Regions from separate parts of the Homo sapiens genome. Here region 2 is linked to region 1. Evidence: promoter capture Hi-C in 16 types of primary human blood cells and fetal thymus (Javierre and others, 2016). All regions are on one chromosome and are shown on one strand. Each heading gives the region's core, a stretch centred on a gene start or on the middle of the fragment in contact. The rest is flanking DNA. Distances are from core to core; before and after follow the strand shown. Region 1 holds the start of PRDM2 (PR/SET domain 2). Region 2 has its middle 190 kb from the start of PRDM2.

Evidence for each region. Contacts are between HindIII fragments. The CHiCAGO score rates a contact against its expected background, and 5 or more counts as called.
Region 2: a contact is called between a fragment that was not itself captured here and the fragment with the promoter of PRDM2 in region 1, in 2 of 17 cell types (non-activated CD4 T cells and naive B cells). The highest score is 6.6, in non-activated CD4 T cells.

Annotation. Positions count from the first base shown.
Region 1 is chr1:13,698,702-13,702,108 of GRCh38, reverse strand. It overlaps PRDM2 (PR/SET domain 2), which reads right to left and starts at 1,921. Exons shown (of 10, transcript NM_001393986.1): 1 at 1,809-1,921. RefSeq lists a silencer at 1,399-2,168. The HindIII fragment of the contact is 13,472 bases long and covers 1-3,407 here.
Region 2 is chr1:13,891,521-13,894,927 of GRCh38, reverse strand. It overlaps a transcript of KAZN not described here. Among named protein-coding and RNA genes, the nearest start is that of PRDM2, 190 kb to the right of the region's middle. The HindIII fragment of the contact is 4,492 bases long and covers 1-3,407 here.

The sequences.
Region 1 (3,407 bases), core at 672-3,171:
AAACGTTAACAATGGTTATCTGAAGAGGGGAAGGTTATGCCCAATTTCTGTTTCTTCTTTGTGCTTTTCTCTACTTTCCAATTTTCTACAGTGAGAATCTTTTGTTATGTTTTGTACTTACAAAATTAATACATTCTTACAGATTTAAACTGTACTGTTTCAGGCCCTGTCCACAAAATAAGGAAAAAACAAACCTGAACATACCAACCTTTCAATTAAAGAAACCACCTTCAGAATCAACAAAAGCAAACATTTACTGAGCAGTATTATCATGTTCTGGCACTTTTCTAAGCACTTAAAATGTATTAACTTATTTCAATCAAACCAAAACAGATGTGTTGAGTAAAAAGAGCCCTGGAATCACAGAAAATGTAAATGAGTTTTAGTTCCACTGTGAATTTTGATTTGTTTCCATAGCTCGAAATGAGGGGGTTTAATAAAAATGATCTTTAAAGGTCATCTCAAGGCTAAACTAAGATTCTACATGTAAAAATTTGGCCAATAAGTGTTAGTCCGGAAGCCTCAAGAGTGATGGGGCAGTTTGGACCATCTCAAAAACACAGAACCCTACTAAAAAAGAACGTATGACAGTGTGTCTCAGTTCCTCCTCCTTAATATATGTAAATTTCCTATCATGTTTTTTTTTAAAAGGCCTACATTTTTCTAATACTTGGACACAACTGATCAAACCGAGGCGAAGTGTGTACCATTGTAAAAGAAATCATTGAAGAGTTCCATTTGTTGTTAAAAGTTTCGGTCACTTTTAATAAACCTGGAGTAAACAAAAACTTAAACATTTTAGTCGAGTTCTGGGGTAAAAATGATTCTTCTAGTGTCTGGTTAAAGGGATCTAAGGACCTACTGGGATTCAGCAAAAGACGTTCCACGTCTCAAATACACCCAAAATCTCAATACAACACTAAAAGAAAAGTGAGGGGCCAGCACGAAATTTCTGTTAGGGGAAATTTCAGCTGCGTAGTTAAGGAAATCAGGACTTCCCGGTTAACTATGGGGTCTTTGCCGCAGCTCACAGCCCGACACAAAGCTACAAGCCCGGAGGGTCGGTGGCTCACGCGTGGATCGAAAGAACCACGAAGGTTTGGGGAATGACACTGACCTGTTAGGTTTACTTCATGTCTCACTTACCACCATCAAAAGAGGTTCATTGATAGCTTTATTAGCAAAATTAGTAACAGAGTTGCACGTCTGTAACACACACACACGCGCGCGTGCGCACACACACACATACACCCGTGGGTCTATGGGAACATTGAGGGAGACAATCTCCAGGTTAAAACCACACAAAAACTATTTGGGAAACACAAAGACGCAAGACACAAAACAAATTTGGAGTGCAAATGTGCAAGACACACTCAGTGGGAACACAAAAGAGAAAAGCACAGCGGCTTGACAATTGGGACGGCGCCCGGCCCCACGTGGGGCCCCAGGTGGCCCCACCGCCGCCCGCACCCGGCCAGTCTCTGCAGCCCGCACGCGTCCCCCGCGGGGCGCGCGGCTCTTCACGGCGACAAACCGAATCCCGAACTTCGCCGCAGGGACCCCACGGCCGACAAGGAGGAGCCCGGCGCCGCCACCCACCCGCGGGGCCACCGACCCGGAGGCCCGCGCCTCGTCCCGGGGCCCCCGGCACGCCCGGGACCTCTGAGGGGGCGCGTCCGCCGACCCGGCCATCCCTGCGGCGCCGGGTCCCCAGCGTGTCGCCGCCGCCGTCGCCGCCGCGCTCCTCGGGGGGAGGGACCAGCGTCCCGGCGCGAGCCCAGAGGCCGCCCACCCGCGCCACTCCTTACCCGCGCCCGCCGCGCCAGCGCCTCAGAGCACCGAGGGCCGCCGCCGCCGCCGCTGTTTCGCCGGCCCCGGCGCCCGCGGCCGCGCCGCCGCCATCTTGACTCCAGTCGGAAGTGACGTCGGGCGGCGAGGCAGTGGCCTGCGGGGCTGGGGGGCTCCGGGACCCCCGGTCTCCCCACGATCCCAGAGCCCGGCCCTTGACCCTGCGCCGTCGCCCAATGGCCACCACCCAGCCGCCCCTCGTAGGTCACCGCGGATCCCATGGCGGCGCCTCGGGAAGGAACCCCGGCGGCTGGCGTCGCGGCAAGTCCGACCGCACCCTAGGGCTAGGATCCTGCGTGGTTCAAAGATTCTCAAAGAATCAAAAAGACTGAAGGAGGTGTTGGGGGGGCATGTCTATCGTTGGAGGTCATTAAATATCTGACAAGTACATAAACGTAGACCTTATACTTCTACGTTTGGATCTATACCAAAAAGATCCAACTCCAGGCAGACAGACGCAGCTGCTGGGTTTATTTGCTGCCCTAGTACCCAGGAGCAGTGACCAACGCTGCCCTGTGCCCGCGATGTTCCAGTGCAGCGCCTCTGAGAGCGCGGTAGTAGTCCTGCCCTTAAGGAGCTTGCTGTTCCCAAGCGGGCAAACAAATGGACTGCAGAGACGACGACTCATAGATGTTCTGATGAAGATGAACTGGGTGGAACTGGAGATGGCTCTTCGACATCCAAGGGTGGAGGCCTAGCACGTGGTTGAAAATGAGTTGAGTCGGGGAGAAGCACAGGCTGGAGATGAGCTGGAAAGTTGGGAGTTGTCGTTATAGATGGTGCCTGGAGCCTTCAGCACTTCAAGATAAAGTAATCCTCTGAGAATGAAGTCAGGAAGAATCCGAATGTGATGGCTACGTTGGCCATCTGCAGAAAGCACCCAGTGGAAAAACAGGATACTAAGGGCAGGTGTGCTTCCAAAAATTATGAACGATCATTTATGTAACAGGTTTAATCTTAAGAAAACGTGTTGGCCGGGCGCAGTGGCTCACGCCTGTAATCCCAGCACTTTGGGAGGCCAAGGCAGGTGGATCACGAGGTCAGGAGATCGAGACCATCCTGGCTAACACGGTGAAACCCCGTCTCTACTAAAACTACAAAAATTTAGCCGGCCGACGTGGCGGGTGCCTGTAGTCCCAGCTACTCCGGAGGCTGAGGCAGGAGAATGGCGTGAACCCAGGAGACGGAGCTTGCAGTGAGCCAAGATCGCCCCACTGCTCGCCAGCCTGGGCGACAGAGACAGACTCCATCTCAAAAAAGAAAGAAAACGTGTTGTATCAACATATATCATGTTATCTTATTGTAAAAGAATGAGGCTAGGCCGGGCGCGGTGGCTCAGCCTGTAATCCCAGCACATTGGGAGGCCGAGGCGGGTGGATCACGAGGTCAGGAGATCGAGACCATCCTGGCTAACACAGTGAAACCCCGTCTCTACTAAAAATACAAAAAATTAGCCAGGCGTGGTGGCGGGCGCCTGTAGTCCCAGCTACTCCGGAGGCTGAGGCAGGAGAATGGCGTGAACCCGGGAGGCGGAGCTGGCAGTGAGCCAAGATGCCCCA
Region 2 (3,407 bases), core at 627-3,126, 190 kb before region 1:
TCCAGAGCCCTCACTCACCCACTCCACGAGCTGCCTCTCTGTGCAGACACATCCAGTTTTAGAAACCAGCTCCAGTGTGTCTTCTCCACCAAGCTGTGCTCCTCTGAGCTCACCGAATCTCAGGCCTGGATGGACCCAGCAGCCCTGAATCCAGTTCTCTTGTTTTGCAGCAGGGGACGGATACCCCAGGAAGGGGGGTGCAGTCTGCAATTTCCAAGGTCATGCAACTACCCAATGAAAGCATCAACACTGACTCAGGCCCCCAGACTCCTAATACAGTGCTCGTCTCACCATCTTCCTGAGACTCACGGTCAAAATCCACAATTAACCCTATAACACCCAGGAAAACATTGGAGGAATGTGTGGTTGTTTTCCCAGTGAGAATTAACGCCAAAAAAGTCGAGAAACAGGCATCCTATTTCGTGTGTGACTCCAACCCAATCATAAGCATGTCTTAAGCACCACTTGTGAGTTTGAGCATGGTGACTATTTGCACCAAGCCATCCATCCTCACCTTTTTTTTTTTATGTGACCACATGTGCATCCTAGCAAGATGGCTAGCATGGGTTATAAGGCCCGCAGCCCATGCCAATCTTTCCCTTCTGTATAAAACGTGAGCCATTTGGAAGACAAATTCATGAGCACAGACTAATGAGGAATCCCCACAACCAAGTCAAAGCCTGGGAGAGGCTGCTCAGAGCAGACACTTATAAGCATGGAAGTTACTCCAGCAGGGGCTGGGGGGGCATAGATTAAACATAACTCTTAGGAGCAGAGAGAGGCAAGCTGACAAAGGCAACCAGGCTACGACTGGCACCTGGCCTCAAAAGATGGCCACAGCATGGCATCATCAGATCCATCCTGACGCACCCTCCTTCACCCCCCAGCTAGCCACAGAGAAAATCGATGACGAAGGACAAACAAGGCCCCTCACTCATTGCAAAAGCAGCGCGTTGTCTCATGGCAAGTCCTAAAAACTTTATCTTTTACAGTGATAAATGCCAGGCAAACATTTCACTAGCTAGTTAAGTCTTACATCCCACATTATATCAAGAAAGAGATGAGGTAGACTGACAGACACACAGACACACACAGACCGCTGTTTTTGGGGACCCGGGATAACGCTCCACTTCCCATTCTCTGGGCACATGACACACGACGCAATTCCTACCTGCTTGCATAAGTTGGCACTGCTGACCAAAGACGTGGGAGAAGGTGACGGGGCCTGTGGCAGAATTGGATGTCGCCAGCGTGGATTCCATGGCTCTTTTGGGGTCTTTGGTGTTGGTCATGTGGCAGCGTCCAGACCCTTGGAGTGTCAGAGCAAAGGATGCCGTCGCTGGCCCAGGAACTGCAGATCTGAGGCTACTTGTCACTTCCAAGAAAATGTCCCCGCCCCCAAAGTTTATAGTGTTTCTTCCTTTCGCCACCCTTTCCTTGCAGTTTTTCTCAAACACCAGTCAAGTAAAAAATGAAACCCTATAAGCCTTGGCAAATCTTGCACAGCAGCAGTTCCATGCAAAAGAAAAATCTAAGTTTCCCCCTAACCAGGAGTCGTGGCTTCTTGACCCGGAAGGGTGGCTGGAACTTGCCCCCCGGCCCGGGGCTGCTTCTCCTGGGGTCACCTGGAAGGGGCAGGGTCCCCGGGAGCAGCTCAGCCCCGGCTGTGTTCCAGCACCAGCTGCCGGCAGAGCGCTGCCCAGGCCCCGCGGCGTCTCAGTCCAGGGAGGCAGGCAGGGCGCGAGGCTGCCCCAGGGTCCCCGGGGAGCTGGCCTTGCTGGCGCCGCCCCGCTGCCTGCAGCGCCGACCCTGGGCTCCCGCGTCCCCGCGCGAGCGCCGCGGCCCCAGGTCCTGCACGCGCCAGGCGTCCGGCTGCTGCCAAAGGGAGAGCGCGGGAGGCGGGCGGCGCGGGCCGCACGGGCGCGGTGCAGCTCCGGACCCGCAGGCGTCTCCGGCTCATCCTCCACTCGGGACGCCTAGGCCCTGCCGCTCCCCACTCCTCGCGTGGCAGCAGGGAGGGACTGAGACCTGCTGCAGCGGCCCCCAGCCCGCGCCGCCACCCCGGTGCGGCGATGCAAAGGGGGCAGTTCCTGGGAGATATTCTGGATGCGGAGGGAAGTGCTAACTCAGCCCAGCAGGCTCCAGGGCTGCTGTAACCTCTTCCTGCCCACAGCCAAGGAAGTGCCAGGCACGGGAGACCCGACTGCCTGCGATAAAATCCAGAGACCAAGAAGAGAAAAGGAGAAAATGCCACACATCCCCTAGGGCGCTCCGGTGATACAGAGATCTGAGTACTTCATCTTAGCCGACCCAACCCTACTGTGTATGAAGGATCTGTCCCCTGCTCCAAACCAAAAGGGGCCGCTTCTCTGGAAAAGGAGGAGAGGGGTACTTTTTGCATGATTCCAACAGCTATTTCTGCCAGTGCTGGGTTTATTTTGCTATTCCACCTGCTAATCATGAAGATGCTAACTCCAGAGAGGCTGCATCATCTCGGGCCAGCATTTAGGGTACTTTGAGGATTCCGCTGAGACATTGGTACTGGCAATCACCTCTCTAGGCAGCAACACACGTGCAGGGAGAGAGAGGCTGTGCCACAATGAGCTCAGCTGCAGCCGTCAAAGCACCCGTGTCTGTTTCCCTCCGGAGAACTTTGATTTAGAAAAGCCATTTGCCTCTTCTGTATTTAAGCAACAGAAGATAAACTCACAACTGATCTAGGGGCCAGAAAGACTCTCAAACAGGCCTTTTTCCATTACAGCCCTTGGCCAGCAAACACATGCAGCTTAGTGATGTTTTGAGGGTTCCTTGGGATGGGTAAGACAAGGCAGAGGAGCCTTGAAGTAGTTCCAAGAGTTCAAAGGAAGTCTGACTTTGTGTTAATGCTGCTTCCAGGTAGTTTAAGTGATTGAGCATCCCTTTTCTTGTCATGCATGAGGCTCTTCTCCGTGTCATGAAACTGTAGGACACCAGGGACCATTTCTCTCTGGCAAATTGGGTCTAAGGTGGTCAAGAGCTAGGGTTAGAAGACCAGATCTCTTGATATCTGCAGAAACCCCACGCAGGAAGGGAAATAGATTGGTTTTTCAGGTCTGAGTGGAAATGGAAGTTATAATGCCTCCCAGCAATGGCCCATTAGCTGCTGTTAAAAAAAAAAAAAAAATCCAAGGTGAACATTTATATAGTAGTTTAACCTGCAGATGTCTTCTGTTTGGCAATCTATGTTTTCCTCCATTCTCTGTATACCCAGTCCATTGCTTCTCACTGCTAAATAGTGTTTCATATATTAAATGTACGATTTTACTCTATCTGCTCCCTTAGCACCTGGCAACTGACTTGCTTCCCAAGCTCTCCTCCTATAAACAGCACAGCACTGGGAGCAGTGGTTCACACCTGTAATCTCAGCA